Regions from separate parts of the Homo sapiens genome. Here regions 2, 3, 4, 5, 6 and 7 are each linked to region 1. Evidence: promoter capture Hi-C in 16 types of primary human blood cells and fetal thymus (Javierre and others, 2016). All regions are on one chromosome and are shown on one strand. The core of a region is centred on a gene start or on the middle of the fragment in contact, and the rest is flanking DNA. Distances in the headings are between cores, read along the strand shown.

Evidence for each region. The method cuts DNA at HindIII sites, captures the fragments that hold promoters and counts their contacts. A CHiCAGO score of 5 or more calls a contact.
Region 2: a fragment that was not itself captured here is called in contact with the fragment with the promoter of PIGA in region 1 in 1 of 17 cell types (neutrophils); the score reaches 5.6 in neutrophils.
Region 3: a fragment that was not itself captured here is called in contact with the fragment with the promoter of PIGA in region 1 in 1 of 17 cell types (total B cells); the score reaches 8.5 in total B cells.
Region 4: a fragment that was not itself captured here is called in contact with the fragment with the promoter of PIGA in region 1 in 1 of 17 cell types (non-activated CD4 T cells); the score reaches 5.3 in non-activated CD4 T cells.
Region 5: a fragment that was not itself captured here is called in contact with the fragment with the promoter of PIGA in region 1 in 9 of 17 cell types (total B cells, non-activated CD4 T cells, naive B cells and 6 more); the score reaches 10.6 in total B cells.
Region 6: a contact is called between a fragment that was not itself captured here and the fragment with the promoter of PIGA in region 1, in 9 of 17 cell types (total B cells, naive CD4 T cells, non-activated CD4 T cells and 6 more). The highest score is 15.2, in total B cells.
Region 7: a contact is called between a fragment that was not itself captured here and the fragment with the promoter of PIGA in region 1, in 5 of 17 cell types (activated CD4 T cells, total B cells, naive CD4 T cells and 2 more). The highest score is 8.6, in activated CD4 T cells.

The regions. Positions count from the first base shown.
Region 1 is chrX:15,334,016-15,336,910 of GRCh38, reverse strand. PIGA (phosphatidylinositol glycan anchor biosynthesis class A) reads left to right here and starts at 1,388. Exons shown (of 6, transcript NM_002641.4): 1 at 1,388-1,410. RefSeq lists enhancers at 1,457-1,536, 1,587-1,636. The HindIII fragment of the contact is 3,001 bases long and covers 1-2,895 here.
Region 2 is chrX:13,751,805-13,754,699 of GRCh38, reverse strand. It overlaps OFD1 (OFD1 centriole and centriolar satellite protein), which reads right to left. Exons shown (of 23, transcript NM_003611.3): 11 at 1,259-1,332. Among named protein-coding and RNA genes, the nearest start is that of OFD1, 19 kb to the right of the region's middle. The HindIII fragment of the contact is 7,415 bases long and covers 1-2,895 here.
Region 3 is chrX:16,884,730-16,887,624 of GRCh38, reverse strand. No RefSeq gene overlaps it. Among named protein-coding and RNA genes, the nearest start is that of RBBP7, 16 kb to the right of the region's middle. The HindIII fragment of the contact is 484 bases long and covers 1,273-1,756 here.
Region 4 is chrX:16,834,681-16,837,575 of GRCh38, reverse strand. The region is part of intron 7 of TXLNG (taxilin gamma); the gene reads right to left. It overlaps LOC124905251 (a long non-coding RNA gene), which reads left to right. Exons shown (of 2, transcript XR_007068399.1): 2 at 1-2,850. Among named protein-coding and RNA genes, the nearest start is that of RBBP7, 34 kb to the left of the region's middle. The HindIII fragment of the contact is 1,489 bases long and covers 651-2,139 here.
Region 5 is chrX:16,789,779-16,792,673 of GRCh38, reverse strand. The region is part of intron 1 of TXLNG (taxilin gamma); the gene reads right to left. Among named protein-coding and RNA genes, the nearest start is that of TXLNG, 4.8 kb to the right of the region's middle. The HindIII fragment of the contact is 430 bases long and covers 1,250-1,679 here.
Region 6 is chrX:16,722,503-16,725,397 of GRCh38, reverse strand. The region is part of intron 1 of SYAP1 (synapse associated protein 1); the gene reads right to left. Among named protein-coding and RNA genes, the nearest start is that of SYAP1, 4.3 kb to the right of the region's middle. The HindIII fragment of the contact is 1,937 bases long and covers 569-2,505 here.
Region 7 is chrX:14,008,957-14,011,851 of GRCh38, reverse strand. It overlaps GEMIN8 (gem nuclear organelle associated protein 8), which reads left to right. Exons shown (of 5, transcript NM_001042479.2): 5 at 2,683-2,895. Among named protein-coding and RNA genes, the nearest start is that of GEMIN8, 19 kb to the left of the region's middle. The HindIII fragment of the contact is 1,430 bases long and covers 657-2,086 here.

The DNA.
Region 1 (2,895 bases), core at 139-2,638:
GTCCTTGAGTCTTCATCACTGTAATTCTCCGATGCTTCATCAATATTAACACAGGGCAAAGTATCGATTGCTACTCTAGTCTTACTCATCAACTCATTAATTCGCTTCAAATCTCACAACTAAAATGCTCTTTCAATGATGTTATTGCACTGTAATTTGTATAAGGTACACTCCACGAAATACTGTCAATACATTTTATTGTGAGCATCTAATATGTGTCAGGGAGTGTGCTGACATTGGGTAAAGAAATTCATGTATTAAACTAAAACTTCCTCAACATCCATTACCAAGAACAGATCCTGCCTCAGTTTACTATCTGGCAGGGAAGGCAGACATTTAACAAGCAAATACAATTTCCGTTTTCAGAAAGAAGTCCATGTGAGATCTCAAGAGACAAGTAATCAAGGATCAGGGTGAGGAGGGAGAATGCAATCAGGCAAACAACTTGAATATCATCTGATAAATGTTATACTTTGGCCAGCATGTGGCCAAAGTACTATTAAAATTAAAAAGTGAGAGTATTTCATTCTCTGGAGGCTTGGGGAAAGCATCAGAAAGGAGCAGACATTTTCAGGGATGAATAGGCTTACACTAGGCTTAATAAAATGGGTGCCAGTAACGGTGGCTGTGATGGTACTCAGAAAGGAATTTCTTCTCGAAAACGCACGTATGGCAGGGATGGGGGATTCCAAGTACCAGCTGTGACGCATGGATGACCGTCATACCACTCTCACTGATTCTTTAGCTTCCTAGTCAAGCACCATCGTAACTAGTTGAACCAGTCGAGTGGGAGTTGATATTTCAGATCAGACCTCGTATGTTTCCCTCAGAGTGTAGAATTGCCATATAAATAACAGGATGTCTAGTTAAATTTACATGTCCGATAAAAAACGAATGTGTAGTGAAGTCCCCAATATTTGGTACATGCTTGTATTAAACATCATTTGTGCTTTATCTGAAATTAAAACTTCATAGTTTCATCTGTTTTGACTTTTTGTGTATTTTTATTTATTTATCTGGCAAACGTCCCAGAGCGGTAAGAACCGGCACGGTTTTGCCGTGGCACAGCTGATTACAAACAAAAAGTCTCTCCAATCAGAAGCAAGCGCGCAGAGAACTGGCGTCCGGAATAGAGACGCTGTAACCAGGAAACCAGGGTGAGCACCCACCCTACCGTCGGCCGCTTCTAGGAGACGGGCGCAGGCGCGCGCTGACGTTACATCTCGCGCTTAAGGGTGGGGACGACAGAGCGTCTCTCTCGGACGTGACCTCAGCGCCTCTTTGTGATTGGCTGCCTCGGGGGCGCGGCCCTTGGGCGCGGACGCCCTAGATTGGTGCTGCGGAACAGCAGGGAGGGACTCCGGCTGCAGCCGCGGGAGGTCCGGACACTGGCGGCCATGGAACTCACCGGTGAGTGCGCGTCGCGCCGCCCCTCTCCAGCGCTCTGGGCCGCTTTCGGATGGGGCTGTTCTGCGCGCGTGGGATCGTGGCGGGTGGTGGAGGGGGTGAAACCGACCCGGTTCGAAGCCCGGAAGTTGGGTCGGAGGGTCTCCAGAGTAGGTTGGGGCTGAGGGTGCGTTTAGGGCGGACGCGCTGGGTTCCTTGGCTCAGGCGGGTGGGTCGAGGGACTGGGGTCTCCGGAACCCCGGGCCTGAGACCAACGTCCACTCTTTGGTTGTTTTCTTTCTCTCTTTGGGCCTGGCCATCCCCGCCATGAACCCAGCGGGGTCGCTGTCTGAGCAGGGGTATCCCCTCCTTGGCCCGAGCGTTTCCCCAGCGACCTCTCAGGGAATCAGGGAATGAAGCTCAGACAGTGCCCAGGAATTGTCGGTGGAAGTACCATTCTCTTGACCCACAACTCCTGCCAGGTCTCCCTAAGGTTCTTCAGGAACCTCTACTGCTAATGATTGCCCAGGGCTCGTTGGTCGTGGTCGAGAATTTTACGGTAATGTCTTTGCCACTTTAAGTGGCTGGGTGGGAACCTTGGACAAATCACTCAACTTGTCTGGGTTCTCATTTGTAAAACGAGAGAGGTATTCACTAGAGCTCCAAGCCTCATTTCGGCTTTAAGAGCTAAGATTCTGCGATTGTGCAGCATAATGAACTTTTATGTCAAAGATGTTTGGACTGAAAACCTGGCGGAAGTGGGCAGACTCCTCACAGAACGTTGCAGGCTAATGACAACATTTTAAATGATATCATTTGGTTCATTACTCACTGTTTTTGCTATCGTTCATCTTTTAAAACTGGTAGAACTGGAAGTTCGGGTTTAGGTGACCACAGTAAGAAAATGTTAGTTAAGCCACCTAAAAGTACAAACTTGGGGAATTTCAATATTTGGTAATATTGAATCTTAATTAGTAAACTCAGTCAACAAACACTTCTGGGGTCTTTCCGAGAGTATATTTAAAATGTAGATGAGGCCGGGCACGGTGGCTCACACCTGTAATCCCAGCACTTTGGGAGGCCGAGGCTGGTGGATCACCTGAGGTCAGGGGTTCGAGACCAGCCTGGCCAACATGATGAAACCCCGTCTCTACTAAAAATACAAAAATTAGCTGGGCTTGTGGTGTGCGCCTGTAATTCCAGCTATTCAGGAGGCTGAAGTGGGAGAATCGCTTGAACTCGGGAGGCAGAGGCTGCAGTGAGACGAGATCGCTCCACTGCACACTAGCCTGGGCAACAGAGTGAGACTCCGTCTCAAAAAAAAAAAAAAAAAAAAAAAGTAGATGAATTTGTTGGAGAGACTAGACAGTTAAGCCTTTGCACATACAGTTAATTGGCATTTTCTGAGTTTGCAGGTGAAACCGGAAACTCAGAGCTTTAGGATGGCTTCTCATTGTATAGTTGTTTGTTTTCTGGAGCCTTGGAAATCTCATTTGTAAAGCTGAGGAA
Region 2 (2,895 bases), core at 222-2,721, 1.6 Mb after region 1:
ACAGTGGCTCACGCCTGTAATCCCAGCACTTTGGGAGGCCAAGTCAGGCGGACCACCTGAGGTCACGAGTTCGAGACCAGCCTGGCCAACATGGTGAAACTCTCTCTCTACAAAAATTAGCCAGGCATGGTGGCGCACACCTGTAGTCCCAGCTACTTGGGAGGCTGAGGCACAAGAATCACTTGAACCCAGGAGGCAGAGGTTGCAGTGAGCTGAGATTGTGCCACTGTACTCCAGCCTGGGCAACAGAGCAAGACTCCGTCTCTTAAAAAAAAAAAAAAAAAAAGACAGTAGCCACACATTGGGTATCTGGTCAACATCAACTATCTAACCCTGGTTTCCTCCCAGGAATCTACTTGAAATTTCCACCAAAACTTCAACTTCTTGTTACAGCAATTTCCTAGAAATACATTGAAATGGGTCGGGCGTGGTGGCTCACGCCTGTAATCCCAGCACTTTGGGAGGCCGAGGCGGGCGGATCACGAGGTCAGGAGATCGAGATCATCCTGGCTAACACGCTGAGACCCCGCCTCTACTAAAAATACAAAAAATTAGCCGGGCGTGTTGGTGGGTGCCTGTAGTCCCAGCTACTGGGGAGGCTGAGGTGGAAGAATGGCGTGAACCTGGGAGGTGGAGCTTGTAGTGAGCCGAGATCGCACCACTGCACTCCAGCCTAGGTGACAGAGCGAGACTCCGTCTCAAAAAAAAAAAAAAATACACTGAAATGTAAAACATCTGAAGATTGAAAAATTATTCAACTTCCATAGTCTCAGGCCAATGTACACAAGAGTTCAGAAGGTTATACATCAAGTAAAAATATTATAAAGCATAAAAATATATTAGAAGCAAAAGAAATAAGAAACTAGGTCACAGAGGACAGAGAAGTTAAAAGTTTTCCGTAAGTGAAAAATAAAGTCTCTCATGGTTAGGAGTAATACGTACTTGACAGCAATAAGTTGCTGCTACGTTCCTGACAATTGCAGATTTATCAAAATATATGAAATAAAGTTGGATAAAATATCCATGATAAATCACTGGCCTTTGTGAATATACAAACTATTAAACATGAAGGTTCCTCAAAAGGCAGTGAAGACCATGATTTTTAATTTATAAAATTAAAATTACAAAAAATGTGTAATTTTGTATGAACAATGAAGTGTAAGCTGTATTTTTTAGAATATAGAAAAGACCCAACTTGGGAAGCTAATAACCTACAGCAGAACTGAAAAATACAGCTTATTTTCCCCCCAAACATCACCTTTATTCTTCCTTTCATCTTCAATCAGTCGATTAGTTCTAATGATGTAGTCATCCTTCAGTTCAAGTTGATACCTGAGAATCAGAATGACTAAATATGAGCTCCTCAGGCATTTTTCTGGAAAGACTGTTATCAGTGCAGGAGCTTATCTATGGCACAGGAGCACCTGAGGGTGCTAAACATGACAACTTGTAAACTTCAAAGTCCTCAATACTAAAGCCAGGGATATAACCCCTGAACATAAAATGCCCAGTAAAACCCTTCCTTGATCCTATAAACTGGGTCCCAAAACTCAATCACACAAAATGAAGCGTCGTGTTATCATAAGGTTACTTACTGAAAGCAATCACTTTTCAGTTGGTCTCAACTGACACAAAGAGCAAAGGGGTAAATTAAATTTACACAGCACACAACAGACTCAATCCCAAATGATAATCAGACGGTCACTTCCAATCCACCTGTACCATCTGCCCACCCCCAACCAAGGTAAGAACTTTTGTGCTCAGGGACTAAGCACAGTCCTGAGAGCCAACTGCCAAGAGCATTATATCCGGATTAGCAATACCAAAAGGCACATTTTCACAGTTTCACTTCCCTTTCCCAGCTGTTACCAGCTGCCCTTTTGGTTCCAAAAGGAAATAGAAGCACTCCTGTGGCGAAGAGCCTCCAAACTCCAACACCTGCCAAAGTCATATGAGGATTCCCAAAGCCAGGCAGACACCATGCAGCCTGTGGAAGCTGTCACAATGACACCAAATAGTTCACTAGCTCCATAACTATGTAAAATTAACACACATACTTTAATTCATTTATTCCTAAAAATTCAGCAACTACAGACACTTCCATTTTAGCTATTTTAGTATAGAAACTGACATAGAAGATGTGGGTAAAATACATCATTTCAAAATCAATAGATAAAAAAGCTGCCATATTTTTTAAAAATAGGATTTGTTTAAAGGATTACCTCAAGAAACCTTTGCAATATTATGTAATGGAATATCGATGACAAATTATGAGAAAGGCAATAAAAGAGGCCAAATAAGAAATGCCCAGAGCACCTGAGTTGAATCATTTCCTCGTGACACATTTACAACAAATATTAACTGAGCACTTTTTATGTGCCAGATGCTTTCCCACACACTGAAGAGAAATGTTACCACATGGGCATAATGTCGTAGCACTGAGATATTATTCACTGATACACAAAACTCAGACTACAGAAAAGCCAAAGTTACCATAGTTGTCCATATTTTCCTTTCCCTATATCACTTTTTGCCTCACATAGTTAATTTTAGCTCTTTTGATTCTGGCTTTGCTGAATCTTGAAGGAATACAAGGCACATGTTCACTGACAAATACTATGACCACTAGTATAATTTATATATTGTCAGATAACCCCATCCTTCTGACTGTATGAGTGAGGTAGAGGAAAAGATAACTAAAAGTGGTTATAATTCCAATTTTACAGCTTATCAACTATGCAAGCTAAGCAAGTCACAAGGTGTCCTGAAAATTAAAGCAAATCACAGCCCACAATAAACGTTAGAGAAGCCATAAGAAGCGCAGAGGATGTGCTTCTCTGTATTTTTTTATTGTTGTTAATTTTTGAGATGGATTGTCACTGTCACGCAGGCTAG
Region 3 (2,895 bases), core at 265-2,764, 1.6 Mb before region 1:
GAGGGTAGATGTACACCAGCGGGCATATTTTTGAAGCTCTGAAGGTTAGTCTGGGGGTGTGGGGGTAGGCACTGTGGCAGCTTGCAGGCAGTGTCACTGATCTGATCCCTCACTTAGGCGACACTGGACAGCTCCTTCAGTGACTCCAAAGCCTGGGTCAAATGCATGTGTAGTTCCGTGGCAAAGAGTACCAGCTTCTCGTGCAGGCCACACACGACACCATGACAAGAGGTGGTGAGAGGTTGGACACGTGTTCCAGTTTGTCCGTAAGCATTCCAATTGTTATCCACATGCAGTTCTCCTTCCAAATGCTGGTCTGGCTGACCTATAGCAACTTCAGGCTCAACAATAAACATGGAGGTGACAGCTTACACATACTCTTCCCCCAGTCGCATAGGATCGAATCCCTATAATAAATCCCTTATTCTAGATCTCTCATGGCAGTTCTGCTTATCAGATCGACCCCTGACTGATACACTTCCCGCTATACTCAGTGACATTAGAGTGGCTACAGGCATTTTGGGGATCTAGCTAGGGGAAGTTGAGTTGGAGATATATTTGGCTAGGGTTTAGAGAAACATACATGTTTGACGGTCATTTCCATGAATGATTAAGTCATTGATTAGCCATCCAAATAAGGAATAGCTCTCAGGAATACTCCTACACCCCACTGCCAGAGGACATATCACAATATGATCATGTCTGAGGGCACCTGGCACCAGATGTGGGTAGTGGACAAAAAACGAGGCTTATGGTCAGGTGCAGTGGCTCATGCCTGTAATCCCAGCACTTTGGGAGGCCAAGGTGGGCAGATCACCTGAGGTCAGGAGTTTGAAACCAGCCTGGCCAACATGGTGAAACCCCGTCTCTACTAAAACTACAAAACTTAGCCAGGCTTGGTGGTGTGTGCCTGTAATCCCAGCTATTCAAGAGGCTGAGGCAGGAGAATTGTTTGAACCTGGGAGGCGGAGGTTGCAGTGAGCTGAGATCACGCCACTGCACTCCAGTCTGAGCGACAGAGTGAGACTCTGTCTCAAAAAAAAAAAAAAAGGCTTAAAATGCACAAAGCCAGAAGCAAGCCTGGGGAAAGTTCTTCCAAGCATATTATGTGATTTTTCCAGATTTTGTGATGTTTCTGGTATTTGTCAGCTTTTTAACATTTGTAATGTGTCGTGATTTCTCATTCCAAATACTTATTCACTTTTGTATCTAATGTTGTACTATGAAGTTCGTATTATTGTTCTTAAAGAGGGCCCCCAAACTGCATAAGCTTCAGCACCCATGAGATCATATTCTGCTCTTAAATATCAAGCTGGAGAAACTGGAATCCACTCTGGAGCCAATCAGAAATCATCACAGGATTCTGGCAGAAGAATGGAATAATCAGGTCTGTACCAAGCAGTGATGTGTTGGAGAAGGGTCATACTGGTTCATGAGAGCTCATTGTGAAGTTTTCAGGAATTTTATGAGGTGACTGACGTCAGATCGGTAGCTTGAAATCAGCCACTGCAGGAGTATTTATACCACAGAAATTGGCAAGTGCTGCAAATCAGGCCTTCCCCCACCACCAGAGAGCCGGTTATTAAACATATACCAACACATCACTGGTATAATACCAGGTGATTCCCTTGGTCATAAATCTTCATGAGAAAATATCCCTGGAATGAATTGACTCTCAAGTGTAGCTGATAGAGATGGGGGTTAGGGAGGGAAGAAAGGGTAGAAGGCATCACAGAGGAGAAGTTGCTTAAAAGCTTTAAGTACCTGAAGGAGAGAAATAAAGAAAAAGGATGTGAAACTCAAGAGAAACAAAATTGTACCCATCCCCCAACTTTGTCTAAGATGAATCTTGCTGATCTTCCATTCTACATGGGAGCACACTGCAGTGAAGTTTTGTTTGTTTGTTTTGTTTTGTTTTTTTGAGACAGAGTCTTGCTCTGTCACCCAGGCTGGAGAGCAGTGGCGCAATCTTGGCTCACTACAACCTCTGCTTCCCAGGTTCAGGCGATTCTCCTGTCTCAGCCTCCCGAAAAGCTGGGATCACAGGTGCATGCCACCACACCCGGCAAATCTCTGTATTTTTAGTAGAGATGGGGTTTCTCCATGTTGGCACACCTGGTCTGGAACTCCTGGCCTCAAATGATCTGCCCACCTTGGCCTCCCAAAGTGCTGGGATTACAGGTGTGAGCCACCACACCCAGCCTGCAGTGGAGATTTTTGAGTTTGTGTGTTGCATGGTTACTTGGGCAAGCTCTGATTATAACATATGTAATTTAATATTCTAAATTGGATTTAGAATCACAATAAAAGGTCATTGTCTTTGTTTCTGTTTTAATATATTCAGATATATTAAAATAAATATGAAGATACATATTTTCAATGACGTTATTAAATTACACAGATCATATTTCGTCTAGCTCAAGGTGCCATGATTATAAGATACACCATTATTTTATATATAAAACTAAGAAAAAATATGTTGCCAACTATACTATGACGTATTTCAGATGAACGTTAATTCAGAGATGTTAAAATGTGGGGGAAAAAGAGAATGAGTCTCATAATCAGTGAAATACGAAATAACCTTTGGATCTCTCCTGGGCTAAAAACATTGTTTGAGGAATGAGGAAATTATAGATCCGGAAGAGCAAACCATCTACTTAAGGGGATAGGCCTAGTTAGTGACAGAGTTGGAAATGAAATGCAATTATCTCCCTGCCTTGATCAGAGCTCACAGTGATTAGAGAATTTCATACATCAGAGAGCAATAAGGGGCTAATGTGGAAGTACCTTTTACCTCTGAGAATACAATGTGCTAAAATGTACGGATTGTCCTCTGATAAATCAGAAAATGCTATATAGGACAAAATGACAGCATCTGCTAAAAAGGTCCCC
Region 4 (2,895 bases), core at 146-2,645, 1.5 Mb before region 1:
TGAAACATTCTGAGTTCCATGCAAACAATTCCAGTTCCCAAACTTTCAAAAGAACGTAGTATGGTTACTTATTACAAGTGATAGAAATACGAACAAATGCACATCCAATCCTTGGACACCAGACATAGATGGCTAAAGTTCTGACAACCCACAGAAATGCATTAAAACTGAGGACATTCTGTTGACTTTAATATTAGATCTCCACCCATTGGTCATAACACAGCCTGAAGGATGTGGTGACTATAAACGTCATGCATGTGGAGTGCTCGCCCAACTACCCCTCTCCTGCCAAGTGAAAACTGTCCTTGGGAAAAGATCATTCCTTTAGAATACCACCTGCAGAGTTCTTAGTTTGATAGCAATGGTATCTCTTTCCTTAACGAAGGGAGGAAAATGCAACAGAAGCCAAAGAATTGGTTTGGTTGGGGAAGAAGAATTCGGTGAGAGTAAAATTAAAAGAAAACGTAAAGAGATCTACTCTTAACATAGTCCTACCCTCAAGGAATTTTTATTTAAGGATGAGGGAAAAATGCTAACCAACAAGGCAAGCAAAATATAAAATGGAGTCACCATCTTCTCCCCCTTAGAAAGGAGTCCAGAGAAGTATACGGGGAAGGGCACACTGAGGCTCAGGATACTTAGGGGAAGCTTCATGTGGGAGGCCTGAGCTGGCCCTCATAGGTGAGCTGAATGAGTTCATCTTAGACCAGGAGGGAACCTTTCAGAGACTATCCAACATAATCACATTATTTTCAGGATAGGGGAACAGAGAGAGACCCAGAGGAATAAAGTATTTTGGGCAAGATCACACGATAGATATAAGAAAAGCAGAGAAGAATAAAGGATCTTCAGAGGCCAAGAAACAGCATAAGCAGTGCTGGATGCAGAATATTCACCAGCACCACCTAGCGCACAGGATGCAGGGCAGGGTGGAATATGATGGTGCCCGCCCAGCCACAGCCAGCAGGGGGACGGGCCATCCCGGAAGCACTTAAGCAGCACGCACTGTGGTGTGGTGGACGCAGAAGCCAACTGAAAGTTAGTCATCTCACAGTGACCTTGTGCTTGTTAGGCTAGACGAGGTCCCTGTGAGATGGCCAAGCCACATCTGCACAAGGGCCTGGCCTGGGATGAGGACAAAGCAGGAAGAGAAATGCAGGGTGACCTGGAGAACACACAGGATTTGTTAGCAGACACTGACGGGGCCTCTGACATGACAGGCCTGGAGTTGGGGCAAGAGTGGTGCTCACGCAGAGGGAGGGAGCAGTATTAGTGCCTGAGGGACATTAGAAGTTACAGCAGTTTTGATGTGGTCCTTTAGGGTCTCACTCTGTCGCTCAGGCTGGAGTGCAGTGGCGCAATCACGGCTCATTGCAGCCTCGACCTCCCTCTTGGGCTCAAGCAATCCTCCCATCTCAGCCTCCTGAATAGAGGGGACTGTAGGCACACACCACCACACCTGGCTAATTTTTGTATCTTTTATAGAGATGGGGTTTCACCATGTTGCTCAGGCTGGTCTCAAACTCCTAAGCTCAAGCGATCCGCCCGCCTTGGCTAGGATTACAGGCATGAGCCACTGCGCCTCGCAGGCACAGTCCACTTTTATTGAAAATGGAACATCCAAATAAAGACTGTCCCATGTGAGAGTTCAGTGCTGGCCCAGTGGGTAGCCAATAAGTGGCCACTATTATCACACATGGACCTCCATGGCTAGATTACAAAACAGCGGGTGAAGACAGCACAAAGACTTTGAGTTACACCAGCAGATGCTGGGAAATGACATGGTGAGGGCAGAGAAGGTGAGACATGCTTGGGAAGGACAGCCACATTTAGAGGAAAACAAGAGGTGACAGCAAAGGAAACAAATAGTGACTGGATAAGAGGACTCTGAGTGGTACAGATCACAGACAACAGAAGCTACGATGGTGACAGTACAATAGAATTGGAGCTGGCCTGGGGGCTTGGTAAAAGGGCCCTCTGGTGACTTCCGCAGCATTGTCAATGACACCCACGTTCAGGAACATCTTCCAAAGCCATCTGGAGACTTCGTACCTTCTCCACATCAATTCTCATCTCTATTTACATGGACAACTGACTGTATAGGGCTGATAAGTAAGAGATTCAAATCTCCTAGAAGCTTTCTGGCATGATCTTCGGTTCCAAAGATTCCTCATATCTGACACCTCTTGAATATTCACTCTAAGTTAGGCTAGCTTTATAGGACCTTAAATTCATCACATTGTAAGATGTTCCCAAAGAAAAGCAGCACTCCAAAGAGGTGCTCATGAAGATCATGCCAGTCTCAAGGTCTCAGTGTTATTTTACAGCTAATCTAGAGTCTTCACAAAAACTTATATGATAAACTTTTAAGTAACACTTCTTTCAGCCAAATGTAATCTAGTTAACTGAAAAAAAGGATGAATGTATAGGTAGAAATGCCTAATTTTACCCATCTGTAAAGCCACGGCAAGTCTTTCCTGTACCTTTTTTTTTTTTTAAGGAGCTAACTCCTCCTACACTCATTCCACACAAGGCAACCACAGAGAGAGATCACAGCAGGACACACTTACAGGGTCTGGAATGAACAAGAGGGAGGGCCCTGATGAAAAACACCAGCACAAGCGATCCTGCCGCCTCGGACTCCTGAGTAGCTGGGACTACAGGCGTGCCACCACACCCAGCTATATGTAGTTTTTAAAACAACTTACGTGCTTATAGCACAAAACTCTAAAGATATTAGAGTTCACTATATGAAATTGCCATTTTTTTAGGCCAAGGACATATTCTTGTCTTGTTTAGCAATTTCACGTGGTTCAACTTGATACAAAATAAATAAAATATGCAGATGTATCAGTTTTCCTTTAGTGGGAAATTTAGTGTAACCGACTGAAAAAG
Region 5 (2,895 bases), core at 215-2,714, 1.5 Mb before region 1:
AAGTAGCTGGAACTACAGGCACATACCAATGTGCCTAGCTAAGTTTTTTATTCTTCATAGAGACGGGGTCTCCCTGTGTTGCCCAAGCGGGTCTCAAAATCCTGGCCTCAAGCAGTCCTCCCGTCTCGGCCTCCCAAAGCACTGGGATTACAAGCATGAGCCACCATGCCTGGCCCATACTTTATAAATACTGACACACCCGTTATATTAACTAAAAGTTATTCATAATCACATTAGAACCAAACAAGAGGAATTAGGGGGAGGGCAGCAGGAAGAGGAGGAACAGGCAAACAGATTTCTTGAGGTATTAAGTTAAAACTTAACGAGGTAAGCAGAAACTTCCTGGGCATTAGAAGACATCTGTCATACTATCAATTACACAACTATACACTAACCCTAGCAAACGTCACCAACTGTGGGCTCTATTATTCAAGCAAGTTTGTTTCTGACTAAGACTCAGATGCCTTATCTATATACCTGGGGATACCACCTACCTTGCAGAGTTAAGGAGATATTAGAATGCATTCACACCTTAAGTGACTAACACAGTGCATGAAACACAAATGAAATTTGAGGTCTCCAAATTTCTTTCCTTTGAAACATAACTCTGAGAAGTGTAAAACTGTGACAGCATATCTATTTAATAGAAGCCCATTATAGTGAATCTTGTGAAGAATCCCACAAAAGCAGTTTTATGTCATTTGGATTTGATATATACCTTCCTAAACAAAACTTCTCTAGGCAAGACCAATATAAATAACACACAAAATAACATAAAACACCTTCCAGGCAGGGCGCGGTGGCTCATGCCTGTAATTCCAGCACTTTGGGAGGCCAAGGCAGGTGGATCACTTGAGGTCAGGAGTTCAAGACCAGCCTGGCCAACATGGTGAAACCCCATCTCTACTAAAAATACAAAAATTAGCCAGGCCTGGTGGCGCATGCCTGTAATCTCAGCTACTCGGGAGGCTGATGCAGGAGAATCACTTGAACCCGGAAAGTGGAGGTTGCAGTGAGCTGAGATTGCGCCATTGCACTCCTGCCTGGGCTACAGAACAAGACTCCATCTCAAAAAAACAAAATAAATTAAAAATAAATAAATAAAACACGTTCCAATAACATAATAAATATGACATAATATGATATGAAAATGTGGCATGAATAGCAGAATATGCTGTATCTGGTTTGTTCTCATTACTGCTTGTCCTATTTGATCCCAGTAAAAGAAAAAAATAAATTTACCAAAGCTTGGTGATACAATTAGAAAACAATGGTGTAAGCAGAAGATCACTTTACTTTACTTCTCATTACTTAATCTCTGTACCAGAAGAGTGGAAGTTCATCAAGTTGGCAAATGGGGAGAAAAACAAGATTAATGAAATGGCTTTTTCCTGCCCCCATACTCTTGCCCAACCCTGACCTGATTTCTCCTCATTATGTCTATCACGGAGAGATTCTGGGAAGAGGAGAGAATATAAAGGTTGGAAGATGGATTTACAAAATTAGCACCCTAAATGCAAGAGAAATTAATCTCTTCCATATGTCCTCCCCTCCAAACCATGTAAAATTCTACATATCCCACACTGTGCCAAATGTGTCCCATCAACTCCTTCTTCACAGTAATCCCCTGTGGTAGGTATGAGCATTATCCCCTCTTTACAGATGATGCAACTGAAGCTTAGAAAGATTGAGAAACTTGCCCAAGGTTGCAGAGCTATGGGCGGCAGAAAGCCAGGAGTCCCAACTCCAAAATCCATAGATTTACCCAGTACTACACTACTCATTACTGTAGTATAGATGAAAGAGTATTGGGTTCCAGACTCAGCTTCACCCCTTAGGCAAGTGAGTTAACATCGTTGAGCAGCTTGTCATCAGCAAATGAGGGCAGTGAAAGCTGCCCAGCCTTCTCCACAGCATCTGACTGGTGCTGAAAGAGTTAATGTATGTGCAAATGTGCCATAAAAACTACAGGGCATTATGTAAATGCAAGATTTTGTTAATTTGGGCCTAGGTACCTTGTATTATCCTTCCACATGGTTTATGGACCTAAAAATTAGTTTAATAGTAGTTAAATAATTTTTAACATTCCCAAGCAAAAATCTAGTAAAGAAAAAAAATACCAACCTTAGACAAGCTGGAAAAGGCAAAACTATGGAGACAGTAAAAAGATCAGGCCAGGTGTGGTGGCTCATACTTATAATTCCAGCACTTTGGGAGGCCAAGGCAGAACGATCGCCTGAGCCTAGGAGTTCAAGACCAGCCTGGGCAACATAGCAGGACCCCCAACTCTAAAATTTAAAAAAAATAAAATCAGTGGCTGTCAGTAGTCTAGGGGAAGGGAGAGAGGGATGAATAGGTAGAGCACAAGGGATTTATAGGACTGTGAAACTCTTCTGTGTGATACTATAATCGTGGATCCATGTCACTACACATTTGTCAAAATGCATAGAATATATAGCACCAGAGTGAACCCTAACGTAAACTATGGACTTAGTCAATAATAATATAGCAATATTGGCTCATGAATTTTAACACAAGTATCACACTAATGCAAGATGTAAATAATAGGGGATAAGGGTCGGGCGCAGTGGCTCACACCTGTAACCTCAGCACTTTGGGAGGCCGAGGCGGGCAGATCACCTGAGGTCAGGAGTTTGAGACTAGCCTGACCAACATGGAGAAACCCCGTCTCTACTAAAAATACAAAAAAAATTAGCCGGGCGTGGTGGCACATGCCTGTAATCCCAGCTACTTGGGAGGCTGAGGCAGGAGAATTGCTTGAACCCGGGAGGCGGAGGTTGTGGTGAGCCAAGATCATGCCATTGCACTCTAGCCTGGGCAACAAGAGCGAAACCCCATCTCAAAAATAATAATAATAATAGGGGGAAAGGGTGT
Region 6 (2,895 bases), core at 288-2,787, 1.4 Mb before region 1:
TGGGATGACAACTGTAAGCCACCGCACCTGGCCAAAGACAGTTTTTATGAACTGTCTAGGAAAAAACTGAAACTAAGATAGGAGTTAACAGGAAGTAACAGGAGTACAATGTCCACTTCAGTCCATAAAGTGAGGGTCTGAAACGAAGTAGCGCCAAAGAAAAGGAAGTCAAATTCAAATGTATCTGAATACGACTTAGCGACCTGCTGGAAGGTGGGGGCCGACAGCTAACATTTAAAGTAGTTATTTTACCTTCATTTTAATTATGCCATGTTTTATTCTCATAACCTTCCTGGGACAAGGAGAAGGAATAATCTGCCCAGTTCAAAAAAAGGGAAGCTGAGGCTCACAGAGGAAAAATGATTTGTCCTATGTGATAGGGGCAGATCTTGCTGGCTGCCCAGCCAGTAGCCCATCTCTTCTGCCTTGTTAAAACCACCCCAATTTTGATGCGTGCCCATGTGGCCAGCCCCAGAGAATGAATCTTGACAAGTCCACACCAAAGAAGGTAATGGCACTACCTCTGTCAGGATCTCTGCCACATACTTGCTGAGAGTCCCGTGAAGCTTAGAAAAGCCATGTGACAGCTCCACCCCAAGAAATTTAAGGGGACACCTGCAAGTCGGCATCCAGAAACATTTTCTTTCTTAATAAAAAGGGAGCTATGGGGAGAGTCCTCGTCCTCCCTTTCTACTGCAGTTGCTGTCTTGTGAGCCTGAAGTGATCAGCCTGAGGATGGAAACCAACTCACTATGGATGAAGGAGAGGAAGCGTGGAAGAGATTGGTTCCCTGATCATATCGTTGAGCCATGGAACTGACCCTGGGACCTCCCTCCCATCCCCACATTTCTTGGAGACTCTGCAGAAAAGCATTAACATGGCAGGCCTGAGACTGCTGTCCTTGGAAAGGCTTGCTTTCAAGGTTGGCCACTGGCTGGGTGTCCGGGAACTTAGATTTCGGGAGGGCTCCCACCATTTCTTAAACTGCTAAGAATGCCTCATTGTGGTTTATGCTGAACTCCCGCTTTCCTTGTGGGGTCTGGAATTTGGATATGTGGTAGGCAGAGGATACCTATACGACCAGTCCCCAGTAAAAGTCCTGGGCACTGAGTCTCTAATGAGCTTCCCTGGAAGACAGCATCTCACACGTGTTGTCACAACTCCTTGCTAGAGGAATTAAGCACGTCCTGTGTGACTCTACTGTGCCTGCTTACCCCTGGACTTCCACCCCATGTGCCTTTTTCCTTTCCTGATTTTATTCTTGTACTCTTTCATTGCAATACATCACGGCCATGAATACAACTATATGCTGAGTCCCATAAGTCTTCCTAGCCAATCATCAAACCTGGGGATGGTTCTTGGGGACTCCCTGACACAAAAATAAAGTTTCTTTCATTAAGCCTCTGATCACTGGACTTTCTGTAATTTGCAAATGATATAACAATAAAGACAGTAAGTAGTGTAGGGAACTCAAACACAGGCTATCTGCCTCTAAATCCCAAGCTCATGCTCCAATCCCACGCTGCCTCAGGTCAGTTGAGCAAGTTGACAAGGGCTTGAAGAACTGAAAGGAATGGTAAGAATAAAGTAAAGTAGGAAGAGCTTCAAAGGTCAGAAAAAACATAAATTTGTTAAAGTAAACACAGAGCAAGGTAGAGTTTAAGGCCTGCCGCAAGAATAGGAAGAGAATAAGCATACAGTGGCAAAGTCTTAGGAAATTAATATTCTTATAAAGTAGTTGGTTAATTTTTCAAAGATACTATATTTCATACAATTTTAGAATTTCAGCATCTTAGTGTGGGAATGGACCTTCCTATCCAGGTAGCCCCACTTCCAGGGGTAGGGAGCACAGGACTTAGAAGGGCAGCCAGTAATTACTGTTACTCAACTCTAATCAGAAAATTCTTCTCACTTCTCTAGTCATTTCTACCCCACAGCCTCAGGTCTATCCTCATAAGGAACATCTACGACTTCTTTTCTGCAAAAGACCTTTCAGATTTTCTGCAATGTCCCTAAGTTTCTTCTTCAAATCGAGATCCCCAATTTTAAAAAGTATTGTTCATAAGCCCTAGGATCCAAGCTATTGACTGTGCATTGTAAACCTGGGTGTGTTATCAGAACTCAATTAGATATTTTACTCCCACATCAAAGCAGGTACATAGTCACCTCTGTACACTCTAACTTTAGGAGTCCTCTTAGTTTGCAAGTTAGGCAGCTGGAACTTGAAATATACTTTCCCTACAGAAGAAAAGGAGGACAGTCTAACACAGGTCCACTGCAATACTAATAGCACTTTTCAAAGGAGGAGGAGGTGGCCCTTTCCCCATTCCTAGGCATGGAATAGTTTTAGGGGCGGTTTAGAAAAAGCTAAAGATCACAAAGCTCATCTTTGGCCATCCTCCCACTGATGTAAACTGTGTGACTGATTCAGATATTTAACATTCTCAGAAGTACAGATTTTCTTTTTATTTATTTATTTTTTTCAGAAAGAGTAGAGGCAAAGCTTTAATTTGGTTGACTTTAACAAAAACCAACTAACCAACTTAACGGCATGGGGCCTTGAGGGAGGTAGGGAGGAGCTCTTAAGTGAGTTCTCCTATAAATTGTTCCTTCCTTTGGAGACAGTGACAATCGGAGGTTGTAAATTTATCAGGAGGGAGGGCCAAGAATCAGGAGACCAGGAGGTTTGGTTTTGAGTGAGGGAGTGGAATGCAGGCCTGGGTGTCCACCACTAACTGGTGAGTTGCCTGAATGTATAAATAGGTCACCAGGAACCAGGAAGTATTTAGTGTCCAGTCTTGAAGGTAGGCACTCAACAAATATATGCAGAACAAATGGGGCTCCCAGGAGATTTTTTTTTTTTTTTTTGTGAGATGCAGTCTCACTTTGTCACCT
Region 7 (2,895 bases), core at 122-2,621, 1.3 Mb after region 1:
AAAGAAAAAAAAAGATGCAAAAGTTCAAAGACTAAACTCACAACATCCTACCGACAGAGAATACTTAGGATAGCTAAGATCTCAGTGTTCATTCAAACTTCTAAACTCAAAGACTCGGATTTATGCAGGAAGTTGAACATGTCTTGTGTCACCAGATCTGTCAGTGAAGCTGATTATAGTCTTGGGATAAATTTGAGAGTAATGTGACAGTGGTCTGGGAACTCTGACTGTGGGCTCTGCCCTCTGGATGCAGAGACTCCAAGGCACTCAGCAAACCCACCTGTGGGATCGTCTCCTCCAGATAGACCAAAAAAAAAAAAAAAAAAAAAAAAAAAGAGAGCCATAGGATTGGTAATGGGTACAAGGCTGCTCATAGATGGCAGAGGGACTGTGTTGTGCTAATGTGGAAATGCCAAGCCTTCAGAAAAGTAGCCCTTGAATGAGAGATTCTTTAGCCAAATTCTACCTTTCCTGGAAAGCCTGGGCAGTGCCATCAGCCCACCCACTGCCTGCTCAAGGTTCCTAGAAAGAGGCAAGTGGGAAAGGCCTGTATGAACTTAGTGACTGAATATATCTCACCAGTCTGTACTGCCCATACCAAGACCCAGTGTCCTAGGTCACCCCCGCTCTTCCTTCTAAAAGCACGAAGCTAAGCTTTCCTTCAAAGTCAGGTTCAATCATCCCAGGACAGAGGCAGGAGAAAAACAGAGATGCCCCCAGGGAGAAGCTAGTCCCCAGCGGGGCTTTCACCCTGACCTGAGTACCAGGAACACACAGAACTCTTGCGGAAATAAGAAGCTGTCATGGCGGTTGTCGAGTGCTTTCTCTAACCCACTGTTTGGCTCATCCACTCCCACGCCACTCCAACACAACTCAGTTTAGGGGGCATAGAATTTAAACACTTGTGAGAACTGAACAACTTATATGCTGATGTTTCAAACTTGGCAGAAAGACCAAAAATTAGAAACAAATGCTTGGTGGCCCCCATTCATTTGCATATTAGGCCAATATTTTGGTTTCATTCTGCATTGCCCAATGAGTTAATCATACATTTTTTCCATGGGTGAGGTAGCAGTTACGCAGCTTTTATTGTGTTTGATAGTCATTGGGCTTATTCATATAAGCCCTTAGGTAAAAATAAACTGTGGATGTTCCAAGACAGCAATGGCCACATACATTTTTAATAATGTTTCCAAGTTTATAAAACTCCTTCCCTCCAATGCCATGATGATGCTTATAAAGAGCAGGATTTATGCGAGCGACTATGCATGGCCTTATAAATATCTTTCCATTCACACTTGATTAGCTCACTACCATGTTCTGTTCCATGTATTAGTACAGGGAGGACCAACAATGGAAGAATGATTTATATGATTCTTTTATTTCCCTACAACCATCTTCACTCCTTATCTCGTGGTGTTTCTCTTGATAGCCATAGTAGCCGTGGATATGTGTTCCCTGCTGTCAATTTCTCTCTTGACAGAGTCGCTTACAAGAGCTATGGAAATTGGCTAAATTTAACCTTATGCAGCATTGTCTTACTGATACTTTTATGTTGTTGCAGTTTACATAAGAATAAAAATTATGATATTGGGACTTGCCATAGTAAAAAACAGAGGGAAGAGTAAATTGAATAGATACTTCTTGCTTTACAAGAATCCATTTAAATTAGTAGGATTAAAAGTATGTAATGATACCACTTGCAGTTTAACCTAGGCCAACCTATGAAGTGGAAAGTCAAATCCCGTAGTGAGAAAACCAACCCATTATTGCAGATTTTTTGATATAGCGGGAAGATTAGAAGTCAGAGGCCTTAATTCCATTTGTAGAATTGCCCTTTCCTCACCCTTCTTCCTTCAGCAAGTGTTGACTCATTTAACTTTTCCTTGCTTGGTATGATTTGCATTTCGAATCTGTGGAAGGATAATCAATCATCCATCATCATTGCATACTGTGCTTGCTAGCACTTGTTCTTTTCCAGGTTACCTAAAATCAATACCTCTTCCAAAGGAGTGATTTTTTCCCCCCACATCACCTCATTCATGGTGGTAAGCACTGCTCGCAACACTGGACTTTCCAGGAAGCTTTTTGTTTCCCTGCTGGCCTGGGGCAGTGTTTGAAACCAAGCAAGCTCTATCAGCCATTCCTAGCTGGGCAGGTGGTGAGTGGGCCGTGCAGATGAAAAGAGAGAACCTCAGGTGGGTTCATTTCTTTCCTGTGTTTTCAGGGCTTGTTGCAGAGGTTTGGTAGTTTGGAGTGATGAGTTTCCTTGTGGCTCTTCACCATTTCTTTTTCTTTTTTTTTTGACACCGGGTCTGGCTTTGTCACCTGGGCTGGAGTATAGTGGTACACTGCAATCTCTGCCCCCTGGGCTCAAGCCATCCTCCCACCTCAGCCTCGCAAGTAGGTGGGACTATAGGCACTCAACTCTTTGCCATTTCTCTCAGTGTATAATAACCCCTTGGTAGGTGAATGATGATAATAATCTGCAGGTCTTGCCTCAAAATCTGGTAAGCATCTCATCTGGAACACTTGGGCCTGGTTTCACAGTTGGAAAGGGAAAGATGAGGGACCTTAGGGGGCTGCAGATGGCATGGCCAGCAGCAGCAGCACTCACTGGGCTCCTTCTGCAGTGCACACACGTGTGTTTATGTTCATGTTCACGTTCGTGTTTGTTCTCAGGGCGGCAGCAGCAGCTGGATGCAGAGCGCCTGGACAGCTATGTGAACGCTGACCACGACCTGTACTGCAACACCCGCCGGTCGGTAGAAGCCCCAACTGAGAGGCCTGGTGAGCGGCGCCAGGCCGAGATGAAGCGTTTGTACGGGGACAGTGCTGCCAAGATCCAAGCCATGGAGGCCGCGGTGCAGCTGAGCTTTGACAAGCACTGTGACC